Regions from separate parts of the Homo sapiens genome. Here region 2 is linked to region 1. Evidence: promoter capture Hi-C in 16 types of primary human blood cells and fetal thymus (Javierre and others, 2016). All regions are on one chromosome and are shown on one strand. Each heading gives the region's core, a stretch centred on a gene start or on the middle of the fragment in contact. The rest is flanking DNA. Distances are from core to core; before and after follow the strand shown. Region 1 holds the start of UTY (ubiquitously transcribed tetratricopeptide repeat containing, Y-linked). Region 2 has its middle 850 kb from the start of FAM41AY1.

The links. The method cuts DNA at HindIII sites, captures the fragments that hold promoters and counts their contacts. A CHiCAGO score of 5 or more calls a contact.
Region 2: a fragment that was not itself captured here is called in contact with the fragment with the promoter of UTY in region 1 in 2 of 17 cell types (naive B cells and total B cells); the score reaches 8.2 in naive B cells.

Annotation. Positions count from the first base shown.
Region 1 is chrY:13,477,946-13,483,064 of GRCh38, forward strand. UTY (ubiquitously transcribed tetratricopeptide repeat containing, Y-linked) reads right to left here and starts at 2,088. Exons shown (of 30, transcript NM_001258249.2): 1 at 1,569-2,088; 2 at 1,309-1,372. The coding sequence starts at 1,720. It overlaps MIR12120 (microRNA 12120), which reads left to right and starts at 1,232; the gene lies at 1,232-1,321. The HindIII fragment of the contact is 7,265 bases long and covers 581-5,119 here.
Region 2 is chrY:16,644,340-16,649,166 of GRCh38, forward strand. No RefSeq gene overlaps it. Among named protein-coding and RNA genes, the nearest start is that of FAM41AY1, 850 kb to the right of the region's middle. The HindIII fragment of the contact is 661 bases long and covers 1,661-2,321 here.

The DNA of each region.
Region 1 (5,119 bases), core at 838-3,337:
TACTAACTATATATATACACATTATACATACATATATATATTACATTTTAGTTTTCTGATCAGTATTTGCCCCCAAAACAAACATACAAAGGAGATTATAGGTAAAAGAACTCAGCGTCTGTACTGAATTAAACTACAAAGTAAAACGTCTTGGTAAGTAAAATGTTCATCCTGAGAAAATAATTAGTATTTCCTTGTCAAATACAATAATAAACTGAAATTCTTAACTACTGGCTTCAGCATCTAAAAGATGGCGCGATTGTTGTACCGTTCTTATTTCACGGGACCAATTGACAACATACAAATACTTTAACAAGATTTTGGTGAGAGGGTAAAAAACGATACACACAGGAATATTCCAGGGCCAAGTTACGCAACAATTCACGTGGGAGTAACTAAACATGCTGCAATTAATAAGCACATATAGGTTTAAAAATGCTGCTGTCAATGTTGGAGATAACGCAAGAATTCTACTTTTAAATAATAATAATTTTTAATAAGCAACATGAAGCTACGTCAGCGCTCTTTACGGTCTATTCCTTGCTAAGGTTTCCGGGTTAATACCTCCACCCTCTTCCCAAGCTTCCCCCTTTATTGCTCCTCCCCCTTTTTACCCGCCATCTTGGCTGATAGGAGCAGCCATTAACTAAACGACAGTGCCAACTTTTCACACAAACAACAAATTCTTCCCACTGTGAGCATGACACCTAAGAAACAAGGTTCCTGAATGGAAAAAGCACACACATTCATGAAATCACATTTGCAGCACTGTGCATCCTAAAAAAGTCAACAAATCACTAAACTTCAGGCTAAACATACACGCATCAGTTTATAGGTCAAATATCTACTGCAAACTCTTCACCGCTGTAACTTACTTGCTACTTACACTTAGGACACCAGGGATATTTTTTTTAAAAAGGCAAAAAAATGTTTAAAATTAGACACCAAGAGCCAAATACCAAAAGGCGAGGGGAAGAAGCAGGAAGTTATGAATTTTGAAAACTGTACACATTCACTATTTGTGACGCTAAAATTCAGGAACAAAAGGCCCTAAAGTAACAGGCATGTGGTGTAGACCCGGTTTAGCCCGGTCCCAAAGCGTCCGATTTTTTTTTTCCTCAGAGTAGAAGGGAGTCTGGAGCAAGGGGCGAAGTATTCCAGAGTACGGGGACAGCAAAGGCAAGAAACACTTTTCCGACCCCTTGGCCATGGAGCAGAGCCAAAATAAATACTGGCTGGGCGGTAAGGAACGCGGGGCCTTGGTAGAGCAAAGTGCGGACCAAAGACTTTGCGTCTGGTTGCTTTTACCTTGCCTAGTAGGGTCTTCGTTCTGGCGCCATCTTCATGAAGCCTCACGAACCCGAAGAGACGGCTGTAGAGAGAGAGACACAGAGCTTGTTAATGGTCTGAGAAAGCCAGTGACTTGCTCCTTCCCGAGTCCAAGAGCGACAGCGACAGATTGGTGAGTGCCAAGCTGAGGATGACCCCGTCATCAACGTGGGCAAGCTGCGTCCAGGCCTTCCCGGAGAGTATCGCCAGCCAACCAGGCGGGTGATGGAGGTGCGTACCTGTCCATGCCACCAAGCGCCTCCCTTTCCTCGACTGTCAGGCTAACAGACTCCTCTTCACTCTCGCGGCTCGCTTTTCCTTCCGCCATTTTCTTTGCCTCATCACCGAAGGCAACAGCGGCGGTAGTGAGCGACACTGCGCAGGATTTCATGGAAACAACAAATTTCCAAGTCCCACGACGATACCCAACCTTAATCGAGTAGTTGAAAAGACGCCTTCAATCGCTGCTTGAGACTGTGACGCCAATTTTATCGCCTCCTCAGCGGCTGCAAGGAAAAAAGCTGAGGCAAAGACTTAAGCTACCGAAGCACGGGCAGCGGAACTCGGCTACCTGGATCACATCTGGGAAACTACAGGGAAGGCAGAAGCTCGCAGTGCTGGAGAGCACAGCAGAATTTCTTAAAATCACAAACTTTGCCAGCACCAGCACAAAGTTGTAATTGTGTCACGGGCGAACCCCACGCAGCCGCCGCGACCTCCCCGCTCCCAACCACTTAGTTGTAGCCAATCTAGGCGACTGATTCGTCTCACGTGATCTTTGTTGACTTACGTCAGGCATTGCTCCACTGTACTCCTAGGCTGCTGGGACCCCGCCCAGCCAGTTCGCCAAGGACCTAGGAACATGACAGAGGCTGACTGATTCTGACCGCTGGTTGGTTGATGGTCACGTCTATGGAGAAAAGGGTAGTCTCTGGGATGGAACAACCTGTAGGTTGTGCTAGTTAAATGCATTAAGATAGAAAATGGAGTGTCTGTGCTGGGTGTTTTTGCAGTTGCGATACGCTTGAAGGGGAAGAGAGCGATGGGAAGGGCGGCATCGGGCATCACCCACGGGGCGCAAATGCGAAAAGAGGACACCATGGACTTTAGGAGAGTCCGTAATGAGGCTCCCACTGTCACAAGCCTTGCGAATGCGAGACCTTGCGGGGCATGGCAGGGAAGCTGCGCAGGCCCTAAACCTTCACCCTCAAGACTTTTGGCCCTAAGGCCTTGTCACCTCCATAGGCTGGTTCTTTGCCCATTTCCTCTCCACTGACCAAGTCTAAAGAGAAGGCATAATATCTTATGACCTCAGTCGGTAAGCCAGGCCCTAGGGAATCAACGTGGCAACTGCATTTATCAGTTCATGATATTATCTAAACAACAAACGATGAGCAAAAAAAAAAAAAAAAAAAAAAGTTACTCCACAAACCCAAAATGTTTATTTCTATTGTGATAATGATAATTCCGTGAGGTCTCAGTAAGAGTAGGAGCTTCTGTGGACAGGAATTATAAGAACAATAATTAAGACCTTCATCACACTTTCAAGATGCAGTAACCCTTAGAAAAGAAAAAAACACCACTTTTTTCTTACTTTCTCAATTGTAACCAAAATTATAAATAATAGGTAAAAGAATTTATTTCTGAACCCCAAATATCTGAGAGAGGTCTTAGTCAATTTAAAAAGTTTATTTTGCAAGACTTACCCATGATACATTTGCCCAAGGTGGTCAGGGCACAGCTTGCTTTTGTACGTTTTAGGGAAACATGATTGGTTCGGTCAGGTAAGAGGGACAGCTCGAAGCGGGGGCTTCCATGTTAGAAATAGATAAGAGACAGGTCGGGCGCTGTGGTTTACGCCAGTAATCCCAGCACTTTGGGAGGCCGAGGCGGGCAGATGACCTAACGTTGGGAGTTTCAGACCAGCGTCACCAACATGGAAAAACCCCGTCTCTACTAAAAATACAAAATTAACAGAGCATGGTGGCGCATGCCTGTAATCTCAGCTACTCTGAAGACTGAGGCAGGCGAATCGCTTGAACCCAAGAGGCGGAGGTTGCGGTGAGCCGAGATGGCACCATTGCATTCCAGCCTGGGCAACAAGAGCAAAACTCCGTCTCAAAAAAAAAAAAAAAAAAAAAAATGTAGATAAGAGACAAGAGTTTGCATGCTTTTGAGTCCTTGATCAGCCTCCTACTGAATACAGAATTTAGTCCGGCTAGTAACTCTGTATTTTTACATAAATAAATAATAAGGCAGAGGAAGCAATCAGATATGCAGTTGTCTCTTGTGCGCCTCACAGGGATAACTTTGAGTTGGGTCTGTCCTTTGTCCACAAGGAATTTCCTTGTGGGCACGTTGTGAGGAACGTATGTAGCTTCTTATCTTTGTACGTATCTTATTTAGGAATAAAATGGGAGGCAAGTTTAGTGACATAGTTCCCAGCTTGACTTTTCCGTTACTTAGTGATTTTGGGATCCCAAGATTAATTTTTTTTTCTCATATTATATGGCATATGTATGTTGAGGAATTGTGTATATTTTTCTATGTAAAGAATCTATAAAAAGTCTCATATATATTAAACGCCTCTGTTGATTACTGTTTTCAAAAGACAAATTGCATAATATTCCATGTATCAAATAGTTTACTGGTTATACCTCCAGATATTAGATATTACAAAAATGTTAATTATTAATGGCATTAGGGGAAATGTTCCTTTATAAGTGAAGAAATGGTATCTTTTTTTAAGTAATAGATTTGCCTCCTCCAAAAATAGGTATTATATATTTAAACTTTGATGTTTAAATGAGAGGACAGTTTAGAACTTCCAGACAAAAAACTATAACACTAGTGAGAGTTTTGGAAATCCCAGCTGATTTTGCTCAGTAACACGTGTTTTCATTGTTATTTTGAAACTAACAACTAACTCTGATTTTATAGATTATAGTCTATCATGTTCTTTACTCATTCCATTTCAGTTGAATCGCTACACCACAGAATATTTTCAGTAGCTGTACTATTGAAAATGTTATATTAATTGTCATAAGTATATTAGTAAGTATATTAATTGTCATAGTGGTGGCCATCACACCAAGAGGTTTTTGATAATATGCATACATTTGCACAAGCAGACATTCAAATAATGTAGAATATGGCCTTTTCCAGGAATAAGGCCTACCTGTCTCACTTGAGGCAGGTAATTATTACAAAGTGATAGAGCAACATAGAGGTGGGACAGAAATTGCAGTAAAGAATGAATTTGAATTCTGGCTCTGTACAGGCTGTACCTTGGAAAAATTAGCTAATCTCTAACCCAACATTATATATCGAATGTAAATACAAAGCTGCATCCATCCTCATACCTTCATGTACATTTGGCAGATTATAAATCAGACAGTATATAACATTAAGGCCTTACATTCTATGTAACTTTTTGGATCTTACCTGGTTTATAAAATGTAACTACAAAAGATACAAAAATATGTATACTGATAAAAGGCTTATTATTTGTACCCTTTGTAGTGTATAATTTGTCACATGTATGTGAAATGGGTATAAAGCATTCAGATTTAGGTTATTCCCTGAAGAGACTAGACTAATGACTTTATATTATTTTTAAAAAAAAATTTAGTATAACAACACATGGAAGGTAGGGTGGTATAGCAAAAGAAGAAGTAACAAAAATGAGCATTAATTATCGGAAAATTAGAGGATATAACCATTTAACCTGATATATGTGAATGCATGTAGCTTATTTTTTAAATTTATTTATTTATTATACTTTAAGTTC
Region 2 (4,827 bases), core at 741-3,240, 3.2 Mb after region 1:
CAGACACTGAGGGAGTGGAGGAAGTGGCTTTAGTCAGCTGGAAGCATCAGCAGACTAACATCTCAAAATCCGAGCTTCTTGAGTGCACAAATTCTGTCCCTTTTAAGGGCTCACAATACTAAAGATTTTACATGAAAGTGTCATGATTGATTGAGCCATCTAGGGAGTATGTGACAGGGGTTTCATGCACCGGTTGTCAGAGTGAAACAGAACAGAAAGGGAAGTTTCACAATGTCCTTCCATACAATGTCTGGAATGTACGGATAACATCGGTTGCTAGGTCATGGGTTGAATTTTAACTATCAAGCTAATGTCAGGCAGGCTCAGGCCTGGTTTTGGGTCTGGTGCCTGGCACTGGGCTGCTTGCCTTTAGTTTCACTTCCTTGTTTCTTCTTAAAACAGGTACTGAGTATAAAACAATACATAACAATGTGGGAGGATCTCTTTCATTCTTCTCTCATTATCATGAAATATGCTGTGTGAGACTATTTTTAATGCATTGATTTATATGTTTCCCTCTTTTGCCTTTTTGTAACTGTTTACAAAATCATACCTGATTAAATTACATGTATTTGATGGTTTTTTTTTTTTTTTTTTTGAGACAGTCTCGCTCTGTCTCCAAAGTTGGAGTGTAGTGGCAGGATCTTGGCTCATTGCAAGCTCTCCCTCCAGGGTTCATGCCATTCTCCTGCCTCAGCCTCCCTAGTAGCTGGGACTATAGGTGCCTGCCACCACATCCAGCTAATTTTGCTAATTTTTTGTATTTTTAATAGAGATAGGGTTTAACCATGTTAGCCAGGATGGTCTCGATCTCCTGACCTCATGATCCACCTGCCTAGGCCTCCCAAAGTGCTGGGATTACAGGCATGAGCTGCTGTGCCCAGCTTTGACTGATTTTTTAAAATATACCAAGCAGTGGGTCATGACAGTAAAAAAGTCACCTGTTATGCTCAAATTAATCTGATTAAGGAAACATAGCATAATCTTTGTCAAGAATCATTTCATTTTTCCCTTTCAGTGATTCAGTATAAATACTTCAGATGAGAATCAATATTTATAATTTTCAGAGTACTGCCTATAAAATAGTGAAAAGCAATTTGTCAATGTGATTACATATTAGGTGGTAACATTTAGACCCTGTCAAGTCTGAACATTGAATAATTTGAAGGATTTCTACAAAAGGAAATATAATACTTTAGAAAGAGATTGGCTTTTGGCTCTATATCATAAATTGGTCCATTTTGTAGAATTACGTATTTATAATAACATCTAGTCAGAGCATGGAGGAAAGGAAGCATTCTTGATTACACTGTCACACATTTTTATGACTACTGCACTCAGATAGTAGCAGCAGAAAATGGATGTTTATCTCATTTATCTTTGCTTTCTCAATATGTCACCATTCCCAGTAAATCACTTTTGAATGAAATCTTGCAAAATTATGTTACATACTACTCTGGCTTAGTGAATAGAATCTAAAGCTTCGATATTTATTTCAGGTTCTGAATTGGTCAAATATTCTATGGGATGGAGTGAAATATGTCCAGGGCAGGATCACTTTGGATATTAACTTTCTACACTAAACTACTTTTTATTAAATGGTTGGTTTTAGAATGCTTAATTTATCAAAACATACCCATTTTAAATGTGTAACAAACAAAGCTTTCATGTGTAGTATTTTGACCTAGAAGAAAATTTTTTTCTAGTGCTTCTTTACTACTGATTTTATTTATTTTATTTTTTTGATACAGTGTTTTACTCTGCCACCCAGGCTGGGATATGACGGTGCAATCTTGGCACACTGCAGCCTTTGCCTCCCCAGCTCACGCAACCACAACCCTTCCACCTCAACCTCCTAAGTTGCTGGGACTACAGTCATGCACCACCACACTTGACTAGTTTTTGTGTTTTGTGTAGAGGTGAGATTTTGCCATGCTGCCCAGGCTGGTCTCGAACTCCTGGATTCAAGCAATCTCCCTCCTTGGCCTCCCAAAGTGTTAGTATTACAGCCATGAGCCACTGCAATGGACAACATAAATCCAGTTTTTACCATACGTTAGCTAATGCTAGAAGAGAATAAAACTTTTACATTGCATATTGAATAAGAATTGTGAAAAGAAGAATGCAGTTTTTAAAAATGATTTTCAAGGTAGTTTCCAGTGGAAGATTTAATATACTTAAATGATAACTAATCCATTTGAAGACAGCATTGGCTTGGGCAATTCAGGTTAAGAGAATGACAAGTCCTCTTTAGAAATGTCCAACCTGTCAACACATTAGTATGTGTTCCGGGGAAAGTATTTTCCATGAGAATCTCATTAAGCTTCAAGAAAACTTGTCATAAACAGTGAATAAAAGAACAGTTCAAACATAATCTGTCAAACAAGAATTCTTTGAGTCATCACAAATTATTTTTGGGTAAGAGATACAATGAATGCTTCAAAAAATCAAGGGATATTGAAATGTTTCATAGTGAAAAACCTCTCTCCTACTTGTGAATCCATATCCTGTATCCTATGCCTTGAACCAGCTGCACTGTCAGCTGGTGTCTGGAGATTTTTCTTTTACTTTTTCTTTTCTTTTCTTTTCTTTTTTCTTTTCTTTTCTTTTCTTTTCTGTTCTTTTCCCTCCCTCCCTCCTTCCCTCCCTCACTCCCTCCCTCCCTTCCTCTCTCTTCCTTTCTTTCTTTCTCTTTCTCTTTCTCTTTCTCTTTCTTTCTTTCTTTCTTCTCTTTTTTTTTTTTTGACAGAAACTTGTTCTGTCACTCAGGCTAAAGTACAGTGGCATGATCTCAGTTCATTGCAACCTCTGCCTCTCAGGATCAAGCAATTCTACTGCCTCAGCCTCCAAAGTAGTTGGGATTATAGGCACATGCCACCATGCCCAGCTAATTTTTGTATTTTTAGTAGAGACAGGGTTTCACCATGTTGGCCAGGCAGGTCTTGAACTCCTGACCTCAAGTGATCCTCCTGCTTCCCAAAGTTCTGAGATTATATACATGAGCCTCTGCACCCTGCCTCGTTTCTGGACATTGACTCTTTATCCTTTTCTGTCTGGATCCTGGCCCATCTTTGAGAAACTTCCCCAACCCTCTGTTTTCTGCTTAAGTTTGACCAGTAGATACCAGAAGATTGGGCAGAGTATGAAATTGAGTCATCCATTCCCGGAAGCTGTTTTCTGGGCTTTTATGCAAAGCTAAAATCCCTCTTTTCAAATTTTTTTGACAGCCACAGCCTATGTTCAGAATTTAATAACTGTTTCATGCATTGGCCCCATAGGGGTACCAGGTCTTCCTGCTGTAACTAATCCAGTTTCCCACTCCTCATTTCCTCACATGTATGCACCATGTCCTTTTATCAAGCCATCCTCAATTATCCTTACATGAGAGTGCCATCTGTTTCCCTTAAACCTCAACTCAGACAAGTAGAGCTAAATATATTAATGTCTTATGAATCCATCCCAAAAATTCTCGGTGAAATTTCAAGCAAATACAAATGCCCATGTTCATTTTCCACATTCCACACAAGACATGTCGTATACATTTATTCTGTCCTCTACTTACTAATCCTTTGTTATTTTACTTAGCAGTATATTCTGACCATCTTATCATGACGCTACATAGTAATTCCTAAATACCATATTTTTAGAGCAACAATTTCCTTCATACATATGGAAAATAATTTATGTGTGTATCCAATTATCTATTTAAAAATGCAACTACAAATAACTTTGTGCTTATGTTTCATAAAAGTGTGTATGTATCAGTAGGATAATTTTCTAGTGTAAGATTTCTGGGTCAAGTATAGGCACACTTGTAATATTCTTAGATATTTACCAATTGACCTTGTTAGGAATTGAATCGTAGCTAATTTTGTAGCTCATTATAATCACACACACTTCAGAGCTTACAACAGAGGGTTAAGTAAAAATTTAAGATTGCAAAACTGACAGTTAAAAAATGATCTTAGTGTGCTTTTAAATAATTTCTCTTTTAATTGATTATTAGTGTACTTTTAATTAATTTCTCTCTCTCTCTCTCTCTCTCTCTCTCTCTCTCTCTCTCTCTCTCTCTCTCTCTATTAGTCTTTTGGAGATTAGTCCTTTGCAAAGTGATTGGTAAACATTTTCCAAGATGATTGGTTTGGTTATGTGTCCTTTGCTATAAAAAGCATTACAAAAATGCTTAGTCAAATTTATTGAAACTTGTATAGCTATTAGATTTTGAGTTTTATTTAAAAGGATTTTCCACTCCAAAATTCAAAAGGATGAAAATCACCTGTTTTCTTCTCATGATCTGTGATGTTATTTTTATCACATTGCTTGTAAGCTAAATTCCCATGTATATTTGTCTCTTTATGGGGTTTCTTTTTTTTTCTACTGGTTGTCAGTCTTCTCAAATGATGCAATACCGTATGTTTTAATTTAGAGGCTTTATAAAAATAGTTTACTTTCTGCCATTTCTCATCTCTACTCATTACTCTTGTCTTCACAATTTTTGAACTGTTATTTTGGACAGATCATGTCACAAGAAACTAGTTTTGCAAATATGATGGTTTAATCAATATATTGTCTTATTTCCCATCTTTTCAATCTCTTTCTCAATAAAAATGCTTTCCCTTAATACCTAAGTGGTTGATTGTCACACACAAAAAAACAAGCAAACCAACAAAAACAAACAAGCAAAACCCATCATCCCTGTTCCATGTGTTTGCCATTGGGTTTCTTAAAGCACTTGGAAGAATTTCCCATTTTCTTCTCTCCTCTTGCTTATGTATTTTCTCCTAGCTTTCATCTCATCCACTCCAATGAAGTAGCTCCAACAGTAGT